2 separate regions of the Homo sapiens genome follow, and region 2 is linked to region 1. Evidence: promoter capture Hi-C in human tissues and cell types (Jung and others, 2019). All regions are on one chromosome and are shown on one strand. Each heading gives the region's core, a stretch centred on a gene start or on the middle of the fragment in contact. The rest is flanking DNA. Distances are from core to core; before and after follow the strand shown. Region 1 holds the start of PHF11 (PHD finger protein 11). Region 2 overlaps LINC01077 (long intergenic non-protein coding RNA 1077).

Region 1 (6,495 bases), core at 1,697-4,196:
TATTAACACTGGAAGGACCATGACTTACTTGATCTGTGTGTGTGCACTCACATGTTTATATGTGTGTGTGCCCATGTGTGTTTAAGAGAAAGACAGTGCTGGCAGCGGTGTGGAAGGTGGACTGCCTTACCCTCAGGGTCTTTCACCTAGTCTATTCCAGTGATCTCTTGTCCTTGTCTCTATTTTCCCTGTCATGATCCCACTGCATTCTTTATATTACTGTCAGAATGATCTATCTGAAATGTATTACGTTACTGTCAGAATGATCTACCTGAAATGCACTATGCTACTGTCAGAATGATCTACCTGAAATGTACTAGGTTACTGTCAGAATGATCTACCTGAAATGTACCAGGTCACTGTCAGAATGATCTAACGGAAATGTACTAGGTTACAGTCAGAATGATCTATCTGAAATGTACTAGGTTACTGTCAGAATGATCTACTGGAAATGTACTAGGTTACTGTCAGAATGATCTACCGGAAATGTACTAGGTTACTGTCAGAATGATTTACCAGAAATGTGCTAGGTTACTGTCAGAATGATCTACCGGAAATGTACTATGTTACTGTCAGAATGATCTACCTGAAATGGACATCTGCTCATATTTCCCCATCACCTACAGAAGTCAAGCTCCGTAGTGTTATATACAAGTACATTCATTCCTTCAACAAATATTTAATGAGGACTTACTATTATTTAATATTTAATGAGTACCTACTATGTCCTACTACTACTACTAGGCCAACCAGTCTAGGCACTAAGGATAGAAGAGAGTAAGACGAATTTACATGCCAGTGGCCAGTGGTAGAGACAGGCATTAAACAAGTTTTGTTTTGTTTTCCAGGTAGTGATAAGTACTATAGAGAAAGAATAGAGCAGAAGGAGGTAGAGAGTGACAGGAGCAGGGGCAAGGGGTGCTCTTTTAGACAGGATGGGCAGGCAAGGTTGAGGGAAGATGTATATGAGCAGACACCTGAATATGATGGGGAACTGAAAATGGGATAATGTGGCAATGAGTTTTCCTTGCAGAGAATAGCAAATGGAAAGATCCTGAGGCAGGGACAGCTTTGGTGGCTTAGAGGACCTACAAGGTAGCAGGGTAGCAGAGTCATTAAGATGGGCAGGAGTCAAATCAGATAAGGACATGGGGTAAACTGCAGGCCAGGCTCATAGATTGTTCTGAGAGTCATGGGAGACTATTGGTGGGTTTTGAGTAGGAGAATCACATTTGCTTTTTGTTTTTCAAAAAGCATTTTGGCCGCTCTGCAGGCCTGCCTGTATTAAAGGCTAGAATAGAAGCCAGGAAAGCAATAGTCCAGACAGAAGATCATGATGGCGTAGGCTTGGGTGGCAGTAATGGAAGTGGTGAGAAGCAGTCAGGCTCCAGATACAGTCAGGCTGAACACAGAACTGGCTGGCCCGACTGATGCATTAGAAGGGGTGTCCGGAGGAAAGAGAGGCCCTGAGGAGCCACTAAGGTTTTTGCAAGGAGCACCTGGGCGAATGGAATGGGCTGGTGGTTGAGCAGGTTTGGAGTACCTGAATACAGTGGAGGAAACAAGAATTCTCTTTGGGACATACTCAGTTTGAGATCATTTCAGAAATGGAAGAAGTTGGTTATACCAGTCTGGAGTTTGAGGAAGAGGTCAGGATGGAAGCGCATCTCCCGTGACTTACCTTACAGTCCATATGTATACCAATGAATGAAATATCCAACTGATTGGCTTGTGGTTGCCACGTATGATGTTTACGTGTGACGTTTTGTGGTTTGGTGCCTTTGTGTCATCCTCTCTGCTGGGAACACCCCTTCAACTTTTCCACCTTTGGCTGAGTCTTGCCCTTTAAAGGTAAGCCCATGAAACATGGAGAAACCCTCTCTACTAAAAATACAAAATTAGCTGGGCGTGGTGGCACATGCCTGTAATCCCATCCACTCGGGAGGCTGAGGCAGGAGAATCGCTTGAACCCGGGAGGCAGAGGTTGCAGTGGGCCGAGATAGCGCCTTTGCACTCCAGCCTGGGCAACAAGAGTGAAACTCCTCTCAAAAAAAAAAAAAAAAAAAAAGGGTAAGCCCAGCCATCCTCTCCTCAAAAAGCTTTCCCTGAAGACTGGGAGTCAGGAGTCTCTCATCTGTACCTCTGTGGTTCTGACCTCCTCATTAAAGTTGCCTAGTAGAGTCTCTAGGGCAGGGTCTGCCTAACTCATCTTTGTATGCTCAGGACCTTGCCCTGAGCCTGGCACACCGTTTGGAGCTATACACACACGCAAGGGCAGGAACCCATCAGAAGACCCACCCACTCAAGTAGAGGGCCGGGGAGGACTGGAACGACTGGAGAAGGGGAGACGGGTTCCAGTCACGTCCTCCGTGAACGTGAGACCCAGCTCTTCCCTCAGGGCCGCCCCCTGCCTCACCGCATCAGGGCGCCCCTCCACTGTCCTGGTTTACCGGTGAGCGGAGGGGCGCTAGGAGAGTTGACATCGGTTGTGGTGGAAGCACTGGGCTGTCACCCGCGGGGGAGGTAAACCGAAGCGTGCCCACCACTCGCGCGAAACCATGGGCAGTCAGAGCCACCTGTGGAACTGGCCTGGGCCGCGCCCTGTCCTCTGGCCCCCTCCCCCACCAACAGGCACGCGAGTGGTGAGCCAAGTTCGTCCAGCGCCGCCCCGGCGTCTAGGGCCCCGGCCCGGAGTAGGGGCAGGTCGGGCCCCCATGCGGCCACGACCGGAAGGCAGGCCCCTTGACCGGGCCCGTCGCTGCCCAGCCCCGCCCGCCCGCCCGCCCGCCCCCGCGGTACACACCGGTGGGAAGGAGGAGCGCCTCCTGCGCGGGCCGGGCCTCCGGGCTGCTGGCGCCGAGCACCCTCTCGGGCCGGGGCGGCGACGCCTGGGCCATGACTGTGCTGCAGCTGCGGGTGGCGGCCGGATAGCGAGATCCCGGAAGTGCCCCAGCTGCACTAGGTTTCGTTTTCTTAAATCTGGGCTGTCGCTTTGAGTCACTAGCCGGCCCGGGGAAAGTTGGGTGTGCAGAGAGGGGTTGTCACACACACTGCTCCAGATTCCAGTCTAGTCTTAATTTGAATAGCTTAAAAAACCCAAACGCCGGGAGCAGTGGCTCACGCCTGTAATCCCAGCACTTTGGGAGGCCGAGGAGGGCGGATCACGAGGTCAGGAGTTCAACACCAGCCTAACCAACATGGTGAAACCCCGTCTCTACTAAAAATACAAAAATTAGCTGGGCATGGTGGCGGGTGCCTGTAATCCCAGCTACTCCAGACACTGAGGCATGAGAATCGCTTGAATCGGGAGGCGGGGCTTGCAGTGAGCCGAGATCGCGCCACTACACTCCAGCCTGGGCTACAGAGCGGGACTCCGTCTCAAAACAAACAAACAAACAAACACACACAAAAAACAAACAAACAAAAAAACCCCAAACGCCAGGCTTCCCTACTCCACCCCCCACAACACAGCGGGAGAAACAATCACTCTCCTGAGGGTTCCTCCTAAAAACTATCATACTGGCCGGGTGGGCGCGGTGGCTCACGCCTGTAGTTCCAGGACTTTGGGAGGCCGAGGTGGGCGAATCACGAGGTCAGGAGTTCGAGACCAGCCTGGTCAACATGGTGAAACCCCGTCTCTACTAAAAATACAAAAATTAGCCGGGCTTGGTGGCGGGCGCCTGTAATCCCAGCTACTCGGGAGTCTGAGGCAGGAGAATCGCTTGAACCCGGGAGGCGGGGGTTGCAGTGAGCCAAGATCGCGCCACTGCACTCCTGCCTAGGCGACAGAGCCAGACTCCCTCTCAAAAAAAAAAAAAAAAAAAAAAAAATTATCATACCGAGTTTGGCTTAAATAAGCATATCTTAAAAGGACGCAGAATTAGCCGATCCTAAATCCAGTTGCCAGTAGCAAGCCTTTATTTAGCACCCATAGGGTACAGAGCACCATACAAGATGAGGTTTTCAGTGAATCTAACATAAATGCATATAATTATAGTTAAAAAATAAGTTGTTCTGGAAAAAAGACATATAATAGTTGGTGGTTTGCTGAGGAATTAAAGGAAAACTGGAGGTCTTCCACTTTCAGCAGGTTGTAAAGAGGAAGACTGCCAACTAGGGATAGCAGAAGAGAGAACATTAAAAAGGACAATTTGTATAGTCTTGACAACTATGAAATGAATTGCAGAAGAGTGTGGGGTCTGCAAAACAGGGAAGTGAGCAGACAGACCCTAGCAGCCAATTTTTAAATTTTTTTTTGCCCTCCATGCAGGAGGATGAAAGAGTATTTCTTGCCAGGCCAAAATGAAAGGCCCTTTATAAAGAGACTGACATTAGGGTGTTCCCCAGCAAGATAGCTCAGGTAGGTCATAGTAAAACAAAGAGCCCTTTACCACACTCTCAGCTTATAGTAAGCTTTTTGGTGTTCCACACTTAAATATGAGTAGACTACCAAGACCATTAACTCTGAGGAAAGCCTATAATGTGAACGACCAAAACAAACATACAGGGGAAACAAAGAAACAAACCCTGGAGGACACAGATTATGCCGAAAGAATACAGAGATGCATGCCTGTATGTGTATGTATACGTGTGTGCATATACATACATAAACACACAAACATCTTCAAGGAGATAAAATACTGCAACCATGAGCCAAAATAGGATGCTATTAAAAAAAAAGAATATTCGGAGAAGGGGAGCTCTTAGAAATTAAAAATATGAGACAATATGAGACTAGAAAAATAAAATGCAACAGATGAACTGGAAGATTAAATTGAGAAATGCTCCTAGGAAAAGGTCCTAGCAAGAAGACAGAGCTGAAAGTTAAGAGAAAAGATAGGAAAATTAGAGATCAAATTCTGGAGGTCTAACATCTGGAAAACAGGAATTCCAGAAACAGTGAAGAGATGGGAAATCATTAGTTTCAGACGGAATGATCCCACCAGGCACCTAGTACAAAGGATGAAAATGGACTCTTAACAGGGACAGAACATTGAGACAAAGATAAACCTATAAGCTTCAAGAGAGATAAAAATGGATTATATATGCAAAAGAGAAGGAACAGAATGGCATTCAATTTCCAGTAGTCACCCTGGAAGCCAGAAGACAGATTTTCAGACTCCACAGCAACAGCACTGAAAGCTAGCAGATGTCTTCAAAACTGGGCATGGAGACCACTAAAGAATCCTATACCTTGCCAACCAAAACAGCAATCAGGTATAAGGGTAAAATAAAGACATTGTCAAACACACAGAGATTCAAAACATTTACTTTTCATTTTTCCTTTCCAAAAGCTATTGGAAGAGCTTTACCAATATGTGGAAGAGTAAACCAAGGAAAAGGAAAATAATGGCATCTAACTGGAAACAGATCCCACATAAGAGACAAAGTGAATCTCTGGGGTACTGATGGAAGATGATGGCTATGAACCAGTCCAGACTAAAGCAAATCAAGATTTTAGGAGAAATTTCTCCAAGAAGATAAAACTGACAGAATACCTCATATTTCTAAAGGTCAAATGGACTCCACAGGCAGAGCTCAAAGAAATACTGGCTGATCCATAATATTCCCTTTTGCACAAAAATGGTTCCCATACTGATCAAGCTTTTTTCCCCCATTTCATTTTAGTGCATTGCCTGAAATTCCTGCGTCTCTATGGTGAATAAATGGATTTCTCAACTTTCTTCATCTGTAGGTTGCTGGGCTATGTTTTGCTCCTTTTCCTAGCTGTCTGGTTTCCCAGTCTGCTTGGGCTTCCCAGTCCCCTTTTCCACTAGATAGATGATCACGGCCAAGTAACCTATGGCAAAGTGCTTACTCTTTGCCTTTTTTCTGTAAAAAAAAAAGATTTGCAAATCATGCCCAGGAGATACCAAGGGGCTGTTTCAGATTTCATAGTTCAGAATTGTTTTCGTGTGTGTGTGTGTGTGCTGTTTTTTTTGAGAGAGAGTCTTGCTCTATTGCCCAGGCTGGAAGTACTATGGTGAAATTATGTCTCATTGCAGCCTTGACCTTCTGAGCTCAAATGATCCTCCCACCTCACTCCTGAGTAGCTGAGACTACGGGCACATGCCATCATGCCAGGCTAATTTTTGTATTTTTTGTAGAGACAGGGTTTTGACATGTTGCCCAAGCTGGTCTTGAACCCCTAGGCTCAAGTAATCCACCTGCCTCGGCCTCTCAAAGTGCTGGGATTACAGGTCTGAGCCACCATACCTGGACTTCTTGTGTTTTTTAAGTGAAATTTTTGCCCAGTACAATTACTTCTGGCCTAAATAAGCAACGTGTGACTACTTTCTAGGTTTCCTTTTCAGTAACTGTATCTCTATCTAGAACAAAAATATTCAAGTTCCTCCAGGTTTCTATTCCCTCTTCTCCTATCTGTTTGTATAGAAAGAGTAGAGAAAATCTGTGGGAAAGAAGACTCATTTCAAAGAGCTTGCCAGAATCTTACTTACAGAAGAGCTTCTCCCTCTCCCCACTCAAATGGTTGAT
Region 2 (5,939 bases), core at 104-2,603, 930 kb after region 1:
GGGTCTAGGGGAGAATCTATTTCCTTGCTTTTCTAGCTCCTGGAGGCTGCCTGCATTGCTTTGGCCTGTGGCCCTCTTCCATCTCAAAAACTGCAGTGACCAGTCAAGTTCTCAAATCACATCACATCACATCACTCCAACATGTGCTCCTGTCCTTTCAGCTCCTTCTGTGACTTGCCTGCCTGCCACTGTTACCTGCAAGGATGCTGTGATGACATGGGGCCCACCTGGATAATCCAGGACACTCTTCCCACCTCACAGTCAGCTGGTTAGCAATCTTAGTTTCTCCATTGCCTCGTAACATAGAATATTTATAGACTACAGGGATTGGGGTATAGAGGTCTCTAGGGGGCCATTGTTCTACCCACCACACATAAAAGGACTGCTTCTGTGCCTGGCAAGTAGCACATGATAAATGTCAGCTGTTTTTCTTGTGTTCTGTGATTCTGAAGACAGCCTGCCCCACCACACAGGAGCAGAGCACTGGACTAGCTTTGTTTTTGCAATGAAGTGACCAAGACATTGTCAGTAGAAGCTTTCTCTTGTTCTGTCTTGTCTTACGCTCTCTAACTTTGGCTGCTGTGGCTGGACACACACGAATGTGTCTCCCTCGGCCTCTGGCAAGCCAGTCTTGGTGACCCACCCACCATTCCATGTCTGAAGATTGAGAAACCTTTATGTATTAACTATTCATGGTTGCTAAGTTATAGCCTCACTATGCAGTTATGGAATCCACTGCACCCATTTATCTGAATTCTTTCCTACAGACCACCCACTCTATTTTGTGCATTCATTCATGCGTACATGCACTCATTCATGCAGGAAATATTGAACGCTTATCATGTCCTAGGCGCTGGAGTTAACATGGTTGAGTGGTACTATCTCTGTCTCTCAGTAGAGGCCTCACTCCCTGCAGAGATGTTTTGTGAGCTACCAATGGATCCGGAGGAAAGCTGAATGTCTCTGAGTCCCCCAGGCCTTGCTTCAACAGAGCAGCGTCAAATTTTTCTGTTTTACATATTGGGGTTCTTGTAAGATTTTGTTTGAAAACAGAGCCTTCTTTCTAGTGCCTGGCACATAGTAGGCACTCATAAATGCAAATGAGTGTCTGGAGACTGCTGGCTCAGGACATCAACTGCTGACACCCTGGGATCCTCATTTCAGGCTCCTTTGTCACTAAGCCTGGAAACTCCTTTCCCCCCAGGATCTCCCTATATGTGTAACCTCCTCCTCCGACATTTATTGGCCTTCATTTCTGATTTATTTATTTATGTATTTATTGCTATTTCTGAGCCACATCTTTTGCCCTACTTCTGCTATTTCTGAAGCACATTTGGCCGTTCCTACCATCCTTCTCTCTCCTGTTAGCTAAATCCCATCTCATCATCATAATTGCATTCTACAAACTGCTGTGACGTCTCCTGCCTTCCCCAACTTCAATATCTCTCTCTCCAACCCCAGCCCACCTTTACCGGGAAAGAGGAGTCATGCTACCTTCCCCACCTCAGCCCGCCCTCTCTTCTCTTATTACCACAGGGCAGTGCAAATATCTAAGACTCTCACACAGCTCTTTGTACCCTGAGGCATTTGAAATTACTTGAATTAAGCTGCCCCATTATTTACTTTCAACAGCTTCTAATAACACTTTATATTCATAGTTCTTTAGAGTTTGCAAAGCTCTTTGACATTATCACATTTAATTTGAGCCTCAAACGCCCTTATGAGGTAAGCAAGAACATGACTTTTATTTTTGTTTTACAGGGAAGGAAACAGCCTCAAAGGGAACCAATGCTTTGCCCAAGGACACTTGGCACTAAAGCGGAAAAACTGGCCCCAAACCCAGATTTTCTCAAGTCCAGCACTTTCTGCACCGTGTGTTGGGCCTCAATTTCAAAGATGACAAAGCTTCAGGACCTGTTTCAGTTTTGTCTTACGAATGGATTTGGCAAAGAAGGCAGTACAGTTAATCCTGGCTGCAACTGCTGGAAAATTTGCTACACCCTCCTCAGTGCTAGCTGTGTATTGAATTTGGAACCTCAAACAAAGCTTGATAGAAGGAAGACAAAAAAGCTTCCGTTTACATTCCATTTTGGTTCCCCATTTGACTTCAAAGAAAGGAAAGAGAAGGAGGAAATTCACATTTTTGTCATTGTTACAGTCACTTTAATTATGCAACGTTTTGTTATGAAACACAGTTTTCTTTTTATGAAATAGTGCAGCCCTTTGGAAGCAGTGAAAATGCTAAGTTCAGAAAAATTTTACATGGCACACCATTGATCTGCATGATGATAGAAGGATAATTAAGATGCTGTATCTTAATTATCTGGTAGCAGAAATATGAGTCTCCTAGTCTCAAGACTTCAAACAGTAAGCAGTGGACTGTACAAGATCACGAGGCAGTCATCCCCTCTCTGCTCTGTTCCCTCTCCTCTACAATCCTTGGAGAAAGCTGTATAGGTTGGGTTGTCCTCAAAACCTTAGACATATGTGAAATACACAGGATTTTGGAAAGTGGTGTTTTTGTTTGTTTGTTTTTTAAGGTACTAAAAGAAATAAGAGATTGTACCTTCTGAGTCAGGCAAAATGAATGGAAACTGTTGAAAGCTCCTTAGGAAAAGGGATCACGGTAAAAGCTAATCAGGCTTCACATCAGCTTTCCCTTACTGGGTCACTTTAGGAGCAAAATAAGAAATAAATGATTACAAACTTGAACATGAGTCAAGAACCACTCCTGACTAGGGATCACTGATTTGAGTTAAAGAATGTAGAACGCCTTTCCATTAAAGGAAAAACTCTTTGGTTTTGAATTGGGAACAGGGGATTCAGTAAGATTCAGTCACAATTTAAATAAATATGTATTCTAACTATCTCTACTAAAGGGGCCAAGAAGCAGTAATATCTCAGTAGCAATGGACACATCTGATACCCAGATTTTGGTTTCTAAATATCATTGCACTGGGCATCTTGGAGAAACTGAATAGGTTCAGGGCTAGGAGAGAGAAAGTACAAGGTAAGCCTGTTCTGTACCAGAAAGTAGAAAAACATTCAAAGACCTATAGGTTTACGTAAAAAAAAGACATAAGATCTTGCAGGCCCAAACAGGGATAAGTGGCTCCCTGAGGAAGGAATCTAATGGACAGAAACAACTCTACCCACCAGTCATGTGGTTAATGTTATGTAAATGATGCTTTTGAAGCCACTTAAACCATACAAAGTTTTCTTTTCTTTTTTTTTTTTTTTTAAGAGTTTTGCTCTTGTTGCCAAGGTTGGAGTGCAATGGCGTGATCTCGGCTCACGGCAACCTCTGCCTGCCGGGTTCAAGCGATTCTCCTGCCTCGGCCTCCTGAGTAGTTGGGATTACAGGCATGTGCCGCCACCACACCTGGCTAATTTTTTGCATTTTTAGTAGAGATGGGGTTTTGCCATGTTAGCCAGGATGGTCTCGATCTCCCAACCTCAGGTGATCCGCCCACCTTGGCCTCCCAAAGTGCTGGGATTACAGGCTGAGCCACCGTGCCCAGCCTATAAAGTCTTAAATACCCCAAATTAATCTTGGTCTTCTTTGTATATTCATTCTCCTCTTTCTTGCTCATAAGATTAGGTACTTAGTTTATATTTATGGATTTGATTTAGTTTTTTATTGTTTTTTTTTTTTTTCATTGAAAGGGACTTTTGGAAAGTAACCAATTATTTGATCATATAAATAATCACCTTGAGGGTTATCTGTTTTCCAACTTTAGATTTTCCTATACTGGATTTCCTAAAAGCAAAGAATATACACTGTACTCATATATGTACGTGTATATTACAGAACTAAAAACTATAAGTGGTGGTGTATGAAGTTTATAAATGAATTTAGGTAATTAATGGGAAAATTAGAATGAAGTTCCAAACATATTGCAATTTGTTTAATAGATGTTTGATTCAGACATCACCTAAAGTTTTATATTGTATTGTAAATATATTGAATAAGCTTTAATAACGAGTACAATTGAATTAAACATATAAAGTTTCTCTCCATCATCCCCTAACGCACTCCCCACAGAAGACTTACAGGCCTCATAATAACTAAGGGCCTGTGTGTCACAGACCCTAGGACACAAAAGGCAGGAATATCTTTGATGAGATTATCACTCTCTAGTACCTCCTCCGAAATCTGGAGAATCCACCTGCAGTACCTCTGAGATGAAGGACATTTTGATTTGATGTGGCAAAGTCAGATGAGCCACATGAAATTTCAAGAATACATTTCTCACGTTCCCAGTTGCAAGCATACCTGTGAAATATAGCCTAATAGATGGAATGTTACCTGAAGCCTACAGAAATTAAAGGCTGATGCCTCATGTTGTCCCTGGGCTAAATCTGTGGTCCTCAGAAGACTGACCTCACCAGCATGCCTCATCTGGGGCACACGCACATGCACACTCACACTCATGCTAACACACTCACACATACCTATGTTTCCCACTCCCTGCTCTGGCTGATCGAGTTGCTTGTGTGCAGACTGTTTCATCATTGCAACTACTACTTGTTTTCTGGTCTGTACCTTGGCTAACTTGAGGAGAGCCACTTTTTTCTGTGTGCAGATATGAGAAAAAGCCTGAATTCTTCCTTCTGGTTGAATTAGTGACTACAGGAGTTTCTTACACTCTACCTAAGATCGGTGAAATAATCCAAGAATTACCCGACTCAGGTGCAGTTTGGTGGCCTCTGGCCATGCACATTGGATTGGGTACCTTAAATCATGGCCTAGCAGCTCCATCTCAGTCAGGGAGTTTCCTGACCCCAGGCTTGGCGTATGGGAGGCCTTATTTATCTGGTCAACCTTCCAACTCTCTAGGAACAGAGCTGTTCCTCCCCTAAAAAGGCATACCACAGAAATCATCTGTCCACACCAAATGTTTATTGATTTTATCCTTATAATGCTCATCAGGGTTTCTCAGCTTCAGCACTATTGACATGTCGGACTGGGTGACTGTCGTTGGGGGCTTTCCTGTGCATTGAAAGATGATTAGCAGCACCTCTGACCTCTACTCACTGAATGCCAGCAGACCTTCCAAAGTTGTGACAACCAAAAATGTCTCCAGGAATTGCCAAATGTCTCCTGAGAGACAAACTCATCCATGAATAGATACACTGATATACACAAATAATATTGTTCAAATTGGCTAACCATCTTGGGTTACAATCACCTGAAATCTGTACAATCGTCTTACCATTTCATGCTTAGCAATTACCTACATTATCATAAGGCAGGTATCAACTACATTTTAAAAAGCAGAAAATATTGAGTGGTCATAACAGTTTGAGCTATCATAGTCTTGGTCTTAAACTGTATTCCTACTTCCTCTAGTCAAATATATCTGTGACTTTTTTAGGCCCCTTTTTCCCCTCACAATACTCAATTCTAAGATAAACTGCAGTGCGCATTTGTTTTTATTTTCTCTTGCCTAAAGAAAGGACACAGGACAAAGTTACTGATAACTCCAAGTTGCAGAGTCAGTATTTGTAAAACCTCTCAAAGTGTCTCTTATCACTGTTATAATACAGCAGGTCAGCAGTCAAAAGAGGAAAGGAAACAGGGAAAGATGATCTTTTTAAACTGGTGTAAACATCCTTCTTTATTTGCCATGGCCCCTTATTATCATCACTTTTCCTTAGCTGGGACATTATTGCCAATTTCTCCAGAGATAAGATAGCATTTATTTATCATTATTTCTACATAAGAAACTTGAGGACATTGTGTTTTTCTGCCTTTGAAGTAGCAATTTCATTTTCAATCTCTCTCCAAGATGCTGATGGGCAACTGTATATCCTATCTTCCCTTGGGCACTTTTACCAACAAACCGTCTAAAACACTAGCAGAATCTATTGCTCTGTCTTCCGGGTGAGTCACACAGCTTATTAAAAGCTTATCAAGGCCAGAGCAAGCTCAGATG

Evidence for each region. Contacts are between HindIII fragments. The study calls those that stand out against the background at their distance.
Region 2: a contact is called between a fragment that was not itself captured here and the fragment with the promoter of PHF11 in region 1, in 1 of the 25 tissues and cell types used here (dorsolateral prefrontal cortex).

What each region holds. Positions count from the first base shown.
Region 1 is chr13:49,492,404-49,498,898 of GRCh38, reverse strand. It overlaps PHF11 (PHD finger protein 11), which reads right to left and starts at 2,946. Exons shown (of 10, transcript NM_001040443.3): 1 at 2,804-2,946. The coding sequence starts at 2,897. The region is part of intron 12 of SETDB2-PHF11 (SETDB2-PHF11 readthrough); the gene reads right to left. It overlaps SETDB2 (SET domain bifurcated histone lysine methyltransferase 2), which reads right to left. Exons shown (of 14, transcript NM_001160308.3): 14 at 3,896-6,495. RefSeq lists enhancers at 2,365-2,414, 2,905-3,144, 3,455-4,140 and a silencer at 2,605-2,884. The HindIII fragment of the contact is 5,353 bases long and covers 1-4,715 here.
Region 2 is chr13:48,564,170-48,570,108 of GRCh38, reverse strand. It overlaps LINC01077 (long intergenic non-protein coding RNA 1077), which reads left to right. Exons shown (of 2, transcript NR_170270.1): 2 at 1,762-2,511. Among named protein-coding and RNA genes, the nearest start is that of LINC00462, 14 kb to the left of the region's middle. The HindIII fragment of the contact is 3,339 bases long and covers 1-3,022 here.